Regions from separate parts of the Homo sapiens genome. Here all the other regions are linked to region 1. Evidence: promoter capture Hi-C in human tissues and cell types (Jung and others, 2019). All regions are on one chromosome and are shown on one strand. Each heading gives the region's core, a stretch centred on a gene start or on the middle of the fragment in contact. The rest is flanking DNA. Distances are from core to core; before and after follow the strand shown.

What was found. The method cuts DNA at HindIII sites, captures the fragments that hold promoters and counts their contacts. A contact is called where the count stands out against the background at its distance.
Region 2: a fragment that was not itself captured here is called in contact with the fragment with the promoter of ASGR2 in region 1 in 2 of the 25 tissues and cell types used here (adrenal gland and spleen).
Region 3: a contact is called between the fragment with the promoter of TEKT1 here and the fragment with the promoter of ASGR2 in region 1, in 1 of the 25 tissues and cell types used here (stomach).

What each region holds. Positions count from the first base shown.
Region 1 is chr17:7,113,498-7,117,006 of GRCh38, forward strand. ASGR2 (asialoglycoprotein receptor 2) reads right to left here and starts at 1,325. Exons shown (of 9, transcript NM_001201352.2): 1 at 1,118-1,325; 2 at 620-813. The coding sequence starts at 743. RefSeq lists an enhancer at 1,477-2,263. The HindIII fragment of the contact is 7,513 bases long and covers 1-3,509 here.
Region 2 is chr17:6,848,543-6,852,160 of GRCh38, forward strand. No RefSeq gene overlaps it. Among named protein-coding and RNA genes, the nearest start is that of TEKT1, 19 kb to the left of the region's middle. The HindIII fragment of the contact is 4,954 bases long and covers 1-3,618 here.
Region 3 is chr17:6,829,993-6,833,346 of GRCh38, forward strand. It overlaps TEKT1 (tektin 1), which reads right to left and starts at 1,737. Exons shown (of 8, transcript NM_053285.2): 1 at 1,657-1,737; 2 at 195-401. The coding sequence starts at 384. RefSeq lists a silencer at 1,700-1,749. The HindIII fragment of the contact is 13,856 bases long and covers 1-3,354 here.

The sequences.
Region 1 (3,509 bases), core at 75-2,574:
CAACATACACAACGTACACACACACAACATACACACACTCATACACAACATACATACACACAACATACACACAACATACACACACTCACATACACAACATACACTCGCACAACATACACACATGCACAAGATACACACACAACACACAACATACACTCACACACAAGATACACACAACATATACTCACACAACATACACACACAACACACTCTCACACACAACATACCCTCTCACATACACGACATACACACACACAACATATGCACGCTCTCGCGCACATATACACACACACAACATTCACTCACACACACACACAGAGTCCCAGCTGAATCTGCATTCCTCATATGCACATACGTGCACACGCACATACGAGGCACATGTGTTCTTGGGTTGGGAGGAGAAGGGCAGGCAGTTATCTTCCAGATCTCCCCACACCTCTGGCACATGCCTTTCCTGGGGTCCTGGGGTAGACAGGAAGGTGAGGTGAGGGAACAAGCGGGGGTGTCGGGCCCTCCTCAGTCCCTGTTCACAGAGTGGGTGCGGCAGAGACCTCAAAGGGACAGAGCAATCATGAGCTGAGACAGAGGGGGAGCAAAGCCGCAGAAACTGCACACTTGCCTTTCAAAAATGGATTTCCTCTCCTGGGATTCAGCCTGCGAGTGCCTGGCCCCTCACCTTGATGGAAAGGATGGTCATTTTCCTCCGAGCTCAGCTGCTGGATATCTTGAAAGTCCTTGGCCATGATGGGGCCCGGGCTGGAGCTGGAGCTGGAGCTGGGCTGGGCTGGGCTGAGGTTGCTCTGAGGGCTGGGGCTGGGGCAGAGGTGCAGATTCACGTGGAGGTTGATGGTGGGATGGAACGCAGGGTCGGAGGGGTTCGGGGTGGTGGCCTGGGTAGGATCTGAGGTTGGCAGGGCGTTTGGGATGAGGTTTGAAATCCCGCTGGGTCCTTTCCCTTCTCAGGAGACCGCTTGGGCCTTGACCTGGCCAGGAGACCCCTCCCCACGCTCATGGACCCGACCACCCACAGCTTCCCATGGGGTCCTCCCCATCCCTGAACCAAGGCCTCCTTGTTCCCAAGCATCCTCGTCCCAGTTGCCTCCCCAGCCTCAGTTACCTGTGAAAGGTGTGGAGAGCGGACACCTGGCTCCCGCAGGCAACCCTGGCCTTGGCCAAGGAGGGGTTAAAGCCAGGAGAACTGGGGCAGGTGGAGCTCACAGGGGAGAGGAGAGTGGAGGAGGGGCTGGTCCGGGCAAGGCCTGCACTGGAGGGTCTGAGTGTCCAAGCTCTAACCTGGCACCTCCTGGCCTGGGACTTTGGACAGTAAACAGAAGAGGAAACAGAGCTGTAACTCATTTGTGGGGTGGGGGCAGGGGACGGGGCTATCTCTGTTCTTATTCCCAGAGAGGGGGGTCCCCTGGGCTGCGCTCAACTCCACACGCCACTCACCCCACTCATTGCACCATTTGGAAGGGGTGCCAGGCCAGGAGGGGCTGGGGTGCAGTTTGCCGTTTCCCTCTCTCCCTCCCCCTCTCACTTCCTGCCTCCGAATTTACCAGAACTGTGGGTGTCTCCAAATATCCCTGACCAGGATCACAGCGACCAGTTCTCTACTCTTGCCCAATCCGGCATCTGAACCACAGACCCCAGCTTCCTGTGGGCTCGGCCACCAGACTCTCAGCTCTGGCCCAACTCGCTTCACTCTCCTGGAGAGTAAAGCCTCTCAAATCCAGAAGCTTCAGCAGGAGGAGGAAGGGGCTTTGCAGAAAAACAGCTCTCCTCGCAGGAGGAATCCAACCTCAGAGAGCCCCGTCCGGCCCAGACCCTGCCCCAGCCCAGGCAACACAAACACTGTCCTCAGGCCCAGCCACTGCCCTAAATTCTCCAAGGTGTTTCTTCATTTATCACAGCACAACACCCCCACGAGGCAGGACTTCTGTTACTCCCATTTCACAGGGTTCGGAAGCGGAGCCTCGGAGAGATGAGGCAACTTGCTCTAGGTGGTGGCCCAGGTGAGTAGAGAAACTGGCAAAGCAAAATGGAGTAAAGAGGGGAAAATAACATCATAACAAAAGGTCTGGCCGGGCACGGTGGCTCACGCCTGTAATCCCAGCATTTTGGGAAGCCGACGTGGGTGGATCACCTGAGGTCAGGAGTTCGAGACCAGCCTGGCCAACATGGTGAAACTCTGTCTCTACTAAAATACAAAAATTAGCCGGGCGTGGTGGCAGGGGCCTGTAATCCCAGCTACTCAGGACGCTGAGGCAGGAGAATCGATTGAACCTGGGAGGCGGAGGTTGCATTAGCCAAGATTGCGCCATTGCACTCCAGCCTGGGCAACAAGAGAGAAACTCCATCTCAAAGAAAAAAAAAAGAAAGAAAGAAAAAGAAAAGAAAAGGTCTTCATGGTCCTACGAGGAAGACTGGCTTCCATGAAGCAAGGAACGTGGCTGACTGTCTACACTTGCGCTAACAATAGCTCGGGAAAGAAAACACAGTTTTTGTGCATGATTTTCTGACCCTCACCAAACTTGGGCGGATGGCTACGGGCAGGGTTTCTTATAAAGCTGCTCGTTTCCCCGGGTGCCGAAAAGGAATTCAAACAGAGGCCTTTTCTGTTCTTGTAACTTGCTGACCCACATGGGAAGTAGCCACCCCCCCAGTACCCTGACATTCCCACCCAGCCACCAGGCAGCAGCAGCCGCTGGGCTCTCTGACTGCAGCCCACAGCGAGAGACGAATTTCATGCTGTGATCCAGAACATACACACAAGCACCCGCACACACAGGTGCATTTGTATGTGTTACTTTCTCCTGGATCCCCAGTGCCTGCCACACAGTAGCTGCTCAACAAGTATCTACTGAGTGAGTGAGTGAATAGAATAATGCGTTTGGAAATACACGGTTGACACTAAAGTTTGATGGGACAATGCTCACCTTACTACGTGCCTTCTGTTGAGTTTCCCAGTCCATTAATGGGTCACAACTCAAAGTCTGAACAACACTGCTGTGAAGCCCCCATCTTAAGGGGCATGTGGATTTAGTCCTGAGATACAGGTAAGAGCTTCACAGATGGATTGTCTACTGCATGTCAAGCTTTGCCAACTGCCAACCAGGGATGGGGCCATCCTCATTGGCCACCCCTTTGACTGAACCAATTCCACGTTTCAGGGCTTGTCACTTACACCCCCACTCACGGCACTACAGGGAGAGAAGGGACAGAGAAAGCCAGACTCATCTGCGTCCTTCTCTTTCTCCCTATTTGAAAATCATTTTAACTTAGAAGTTAACATGTACTTGGACTATTTCTGAAGTTTCCATATTGTTGGAGGTTTTCTGTTTTGGGTTATGGAATCCTATTTTCTTTGATTGATTTTTTTTTTTTTTTTTTTTGAGACAGAGTTTCACTCTTGTCACCCAGGCTGGAATGCAATGGCGCGATCTCAGCTCACTGCAACCTCCACCTCCCGGGTTCAAGTGATTCTCCTGCCTCAGCCTCCTGAGTAGCTG
Region 2 (3,618 bases), core at 692-3,191, 260 kb before region 1:
TGCCTGCTCCTTCCTCTGGAAGCTTAATCCCAGAGGGAAACCTGCCAGATGCCAGCCGGAGCTCCCCTGTATGAGGTGTCTGTCAACCCCTGCTGGGAGATGTCTCCCAGTCAGGAGGCATGGGGGTCAGGGACCCACTTGAAGAGGCAGTCTGTCCCTTAGCAGAGCTCTAGTGCTGTGCTGGGAGATTCACTGGTCTCTTCAGAGCCGGCAGGCAGGAACATTTAAGTCTGCTAAAGCTGTGCCCACAGCTGCCCCTTCCCCAAGGTGCTCTGTCCCAGGGAGATGGGAGTTTTATCTATAAGCCCCTGACTGGAGCTGCTGCCTTTCTTTCAGTGATGCCCTGCCCAGAGAGGAGGAAACTAGAGAGGCAGTCTGGCTACAGCGGCTTTGTTGCACTGTGGCGGGCTCTGCCCAGTCCAAACTTCCTGGTGGCTTTGTTTACACTGTGAGGGGAAAACCGCCTACTCAAGCCTCAGTAATGGCAGATGCCCCTCCCCATACCAAGCTCGAGCATCTCAGGTTGACTTCAGACTGCTGTGCTGGCAGCAAGAGTTTCAAGCCAGTGGATCTTAGCTTGCTGGTCTCCAGGGGGGTGGGACTCGCTGAGCAAGACCACCTTGGCTCCCTTGCTTCAGCCCCCTTTCCAGGGGAGTGAAAGGTTCTGTCTCACTGGGGTTCCAGGTGCCACTGGGGTACAACAACAACAACAAAAAACTCCTGCAGCTAGCTCAGTGTCTGCCCAAATGGCCACCCACTTTTATGCTTGAAACCCAGGGCCCTTGTGGTGTAGGCACCTGAGAGAATCTCCTGGTCTGCTGGTTGCAAAAACCGTGGGAAAAGCATAGTATCTGGGCTGAATAGTACAGTCCTTCATGGCACAGTCCCTCATGGCTTCCCTTGGCTACGGGAGGGAGTTCCTGACCCCTTGCACTTCCCAGGTGAGACGACGCCCCACCCTGCTTCTGCTCACCCTTCGTGAGCTGCACCCACTGTCTAACCAGTCCCAATGAGATGAACTGGGTACCTCAGTTGGAAATGCAAAAATCACCCATCTTCCTCATAGGTCTCGCTGGGAGCCGCAGACCGGAGCTGTTCCTATTTGGCTATCTTGCCAAGTTCCCCCTCATTTTCTTGAATTACAGCTTTTAGTATTCTTTCTGATCCTTTGCTTTGGTTTTTGTTCATCTTTCCGTTGTGCTTTTGTTTTGTGTAATGATATTATTTTGCCCTTTATTGTCTCTTTTCTTATAGTAACTTTGTATGGGATTTGACTTCACTACTTTTCTACTGCCATTTTTATGTGAATTTTGTTTTCCATGTTAATAAAAAGAAGCTTGTTCAGATAACACATCTAACTTCTTGGATCCCCATCCATTTTTGTTCTTGTAATGTTCAAAAACATGATGGCCTGCTTTTGGAGATTTCCTGGCTTTGTTTCCCCACCCTGTGCTTTTCTGGATCTTTTCTTTCATTTATTTCAGTTGAGTTTTTCCAAGGGTTTCTCTGAAGTGTTCCGCTCCATCCTGGAAGACAGCCTTGGCTGACCAGTTTCAGGAGTTCCCGTAGGTCCTTAGATCTTATCAACTGTGCCTGGCACCTACTTGCTATTACAGTGGTGATAGGCTTTGGATCTGTGTCCCCTCTAAATATCATATCAAACTATAATCCCTATTGTTGGAGGTAGGGCCTGGTGGGAGGTGACTGGATTGTCGAGGAGATTTCTCATGAATGGTTTATCACCATCTCCTTGGTGCTGTTCTCGCGCTAGTGGGTGACTTCTCCTGACATCTGGTCGTTTAAAAGTATGCGACACTGTTTTAGTCTGTTCTTGCATTGCTATAAAGAAATACCTGAGACTGGGTAATTTATAAAGAAAAAATATTTAATTGGCTCATGGTTCCACAGGCTGAACAGGAAGTATGATGCTGGCATCTACTTGGCTTCTGGGAGGCCTCAGGAAACAAAATCATGATGGAAGGTGGAGGGAGAGCCACATGGCTGGAGCCAGAGGAAGAGAGAGAGAGGGGAGAGGTGCCACACACTTTAAAGCAACCAGATCTCATGAGAACTCTATCATAAGAACAGTACCAACGGATAGTGCTAAACCATTCACGAAGGATCCACCCGCATGAGCCAATCACCTCCAACCAGGTCCCATTTCTGACATTTGAAAATTACAACTTGACACAAGATTTAGGTGGGGACACAGATCCGAACCATATCAGGCACCTTCTCCCCCTCTTCCTTGCTCCTGCCTTCAGGATATGATGTGCCTGCTCCCCCTTTGCCTTTTTCCATGATTGGAAGCTTCCTGAGGCCTTCCCAGAGGCAGAAGCCACTATGTTTCCTGTACAGCCGGTAGAACCATGAGCCAATTAAACCTCTTTTCTTGTAAATGAGCCAGTCTCAGGTATTTCTTTACAGCAGTGCGAGAATGGCCTAAAACAAATGGGCATGTTCCCTCCTAGTTCCAGCTGTTGTTCCCAAATTGGCCTACTACAATTTTACCATTTTCAGGTTTGTCATATGTCCTGTTGTTTTCTTCCAAGTTCTCTTGCACAGGTGAGATGTGGATAACACATAGGTCTTATGGCTGTTGGTGGTTTGTCCTGTTTTGGAGTTTGCAGGGATTACTTGTCTAGCTTTTTGTAAATGTGATTCATGAGTATTTGATTTTGCTATCTAGTTCTGTCTGTTTTTATGTGGATATCCAGGAAGATCCAAATTCTATGCTGCCTCCACTGAAACTGTCTTCCCAGAAATGTATTACTTTTTGTCATTAAAAAGGAGGTATAGGAAGATTAATCTATGCACTGCATTTGGAAAGGTGTTTGTTTGTTTGTTGTTTATTTTTAGGTTGCAGTGATGGCAGGGAGCCAATGTTGATTTCTGATATGGGAGGATGATGATCAGAGCTGGTCATCTGAAAGATTAACTTGGCAGAAGTTTGAAGATTGAAGAAAAGTAGTGGAGTGAGAAGGCCAATTCTGACAGTACATCAGCAGTCCAAATAGGAGATGATAATGAGGGAAAGGTGAGTGGGAAGGGCAAGGAAAAGACAGCTGTGGGGAATTCAATAAACGCTGAATCAGTGGCTTGGTGGTGAGGGAAGGATGAAGAAGAGTTAGAAGAATCAGAATTGACTGAAAATTTGTAGGATGAATGTCTAGGGGAATAATATTACCCAAAACACCAGTGTAGATGAGGAAAATGATATGGTGACAGTAATAATGAGGGGTCAGAGGGAGAGCAGTGACTAATTTTTTTTTTTTAATTTGCATTTCACTAGCTGGAGGTACCTCAAGAAAAAGATGTTGTGTGTGAATGTGCAGGGCTGAGGGAAAGGTCCATGCTAGACACACAGATTTGAGAGTCATCTGCAAAGTATACTCCAGGAAAGATAGAACAAATGGCACTATATATCCACAGAAAACTTAGAAACACTATTCCTGAAATAAAGATTGCCTTTGCTCATTGAAAATGTTCACAGTGTTTCAAGTTAACAACTAGTAAAGGACCAAGAGCAAGAACTATCCTCAGGAAAATACTGGCTATAAAAAGAAAGACCTGAAGCTCTATGTGTACAAGTGGTGCTTGTAAATTTTTCTGAGTAGT
Region 3 (3,354 bases), core at 487-2,986, 280 kb before region 1:
GGTGGCTGAAAATCAGGCTGGGTTACCTTGTGTCTATCTTAGGGCAGTGAACTTAAACATAGAACCTGGAGAATACACATGATTTTCTCTAATATTCAAAAATAATATGTTGCCACATCTGAACATGACACTATAGCTAAACTCAACAGCCTCATCCTAGCATGTTCACGAATATGCCAAGCATGTTGTCTTACCTAGTTTCTTGTTCACATCGCTTTGAGATTTTCTTGTGGTCTTTTCAATTTCATCCACAAGCCTCTGGCTTTCTGCGACCAGGCGTTCTGATCGGGACCTTTGAGCGTCTGCTCTGTGGTACTGGTTCTTGTTAGCAATGTGCCACTCTGAGGGCAGGAACTTGGGTGGAGGTTGTAATAGTTTAGCCATTTGAGGTTTCCAAATTCCTGATCAAAAGCAGACTCTTTTAGATTAAATGAAAGCAATTTGTCCTTTTTTATGATAATTTTTATTCAAGGATGACATATATACGGAAAATTGCATAAATCATAATCTGTACACAAAATAAATCTATCTGTGTAGCCGGCACCCAAACCAAGAAACAAGCATTACCAGCATCTCTAACCTCCTCCCAGTTACTCCACCTCAAGCCCCTCAGGGTAACCAGTATCCTGACTTTTAACACTACAAATTCGTTTTGCTGTTTTTGAATTTAACATAAATGGAATAATACAGTATGTATTATTCTGTCTCTGACTTCTTTAGCTCAACATTATGTTTGTAAAATTCATCCATATTGTCTATATGATTGCAGTTTGTTCGTTCTCGTTGCTGTGTAGGTGCCGTTATATGAATAAAATCTAGCTGTCTTTTCTACTGTTTATGGATATTTGGGTTGTTTACACTCCAGGGCCATAATGAGAATGCTATTAATAGTCTCATACATGTCTTTTGGTGAACACGTGTATGCATTTTTATAACTCATTAGAATTGTTGGGTCATGGAGTAATGTTCTGCCAAACAGATGAGCCCAGAGATGTTTTCTTAAAAAAAGAAGAAGAAAAAGAAGAGGAAGAAGAAGGAGGAGGAGGAGGAGGAGGAGGAGGAAATGTAACATGTGTAAACTGACAACTGGGTATTGAACTTGTTCAACACATAAAAGAATCTGAAAACTTCCAGGACAAAGAAAAGGAGAGAACAGGAAGGGGAACAACACAGGGGAAGCCAGCTGGCAGAGGCTGTCGGCAGTGGAAACGCTAAAATTACCCATTTCATCTTCATACAACTCTGATGGACCATGAGAACTGCCTTCCTCAGACAGGGCTGAAATCTGCCCCCACTCCCATCTCTACCCTAAGGTCTGAGTCCCTGCTCTTAGGGGCCTCTGGATCTCTGAAGCCTTCACATATATAAGGATGAAACTAGAGTCAGATCTTGACTAGGCTGAGAACCTCAGCCCACCCAGCCCCCTCAGACAACATGGAGTTTCTCCGTTTCTTCCTAGCCCAGTCCCTTTTATGGCTTCTACCGAATTTATCTGAGTGTGGAGCCCAGCATTTAACCCAAGGCTCCTGGATAAGTCTGAATAGCCCCCAGAGAGGTGGGGACCTAAATTAGGGCTCATCCCAACGTCATAAGGATTTGGTTAGGCGGGGAGGGTTGCGGGTAGGGGTCGGTGGGGTGGGGTCATGGTTTACTTACCTCAGCGCCACACAGAACCACTACGCAAGCTCGGGATGGGAGCCTCCTTACCCCAACTGGAGCTTCCAGCTCTTGCAGAACAGAGAGGTAAACAACGCGGTCTCCATGACAACAAGTGACGCGTTGCCAGGGCAAAGAGGGCTGGTTCCGCCACTGAGCAGCCTGGCCAAAGGCTTAGCGCAGGCGCAAATTCTGCGGACCCCAGAGCCAGAGACCCAGGAGTGTGGCGTGTGGGAAGGGTAGGGCCAGATGCTCCGGCCACCTCAACCTACCGCGAAGACGCGGGGCACCAAGCAGAAGACAGCGGCCAAAGCCCCGAGCTGGGAGTCAGGAGACCTGCGTCTAGTCCGAGCCCTCCCGCGGGCGGGATCATCTCGGGTCGCGCTGTACCCCGGCTCTCAGACTTCCCGGCTGTACAGTGGGGTTGGGCTGGGCGATGCCTCCAGGACCTCGCAGTCGCAGGCGAAATTGAGGGTTAAAAATCAGGAAGCCAAGTTGATTGTTTCTGTAAGCTACAATGAGTTTCCTCCAGAGTTTGTATAGGTCTGTTACCACAACTGGCTTATTTCTGCGTGGGGCGCCCGATGGGGCACTCTGTGAGGGCAGGTGTGTGAGTAGAACGCCTTCAGGCAAACACTCCAGAAGTCACTCTGCATCCACTAGGAGATGGAAAATATGGGAGAAAAATTAAATCTGAGGGGATAGCTCCAGAAGATTTAATATTTGTCAAGTAGGACTTCCAGAAGGAAAGAAAAAAAGAGAGAGAATGGCAAAACAATTGTGAAAGTGAGAGAGAGATAACTTGAGCCAAAGACTCAAGTCTTTAGATTAACGACCCACCTGAAATTAACACACACCCCCATTCCTTACATATAGTCCTCCCTGTGGATTATGCATATAATCCATAGAGTGATTAGCTCCAGGATCCCCCTCAGATACTGAAATCTGCAGATTCTCAAGTCTCATATAAAGTGGTGTAGCATTTGTATATAACCTACGCACATCCCTAGATAGGCATACTTTACGTCATCTCTAGATTGCTACAATACCTAATACAATGCCTAATACAATACCTAATATAGTGCCTAATACAGTGCCTAATGCAATACATAATACAATACATAATACAACACCTAATACCTAATATAATACCTAATACAATGCCTAATACAATACCTAATACAATGTCTAACCATGCCTACTCATCGCTTCATTCGCATGGATTCAACATAGCACTCAGGGTGCAACAAATTCAAGTTTTGCTTTTTGGAGCTTTGTGGAATTTTTTTCCTGAATATTTTTTATTTGTGTGTCATCGCATCCAAGGATGTAGAATCCACGGATAGGAAGGGCCAACTTTATACCTATTCTGGTGGAATTTCTTAATTCAAAGAATAAGAAGAAAAAGAAAGAATAGGTATCAAGTGTTTCGTCTCTAACACAGGTGGCTAGAAATGATGGTTGCTAGAAATGATGCTAGGATAATGCCTTCAAATTCTATAGAAAATTATTTCAAATCTGGGATTCTACAACCAGTCAAAGCATTTCATGTATGAGAGCAAAATAAAAGATTTCTTTGGACATGCCAGTACTCAAAACGGTGAGCGTACATTCTTTATGGAAAAAAATAATAGAGCAAAAGTGAAAAATCCAGAAAGAAGAAGATACTGGACATAAGACATAGTGGAACCAACCCAG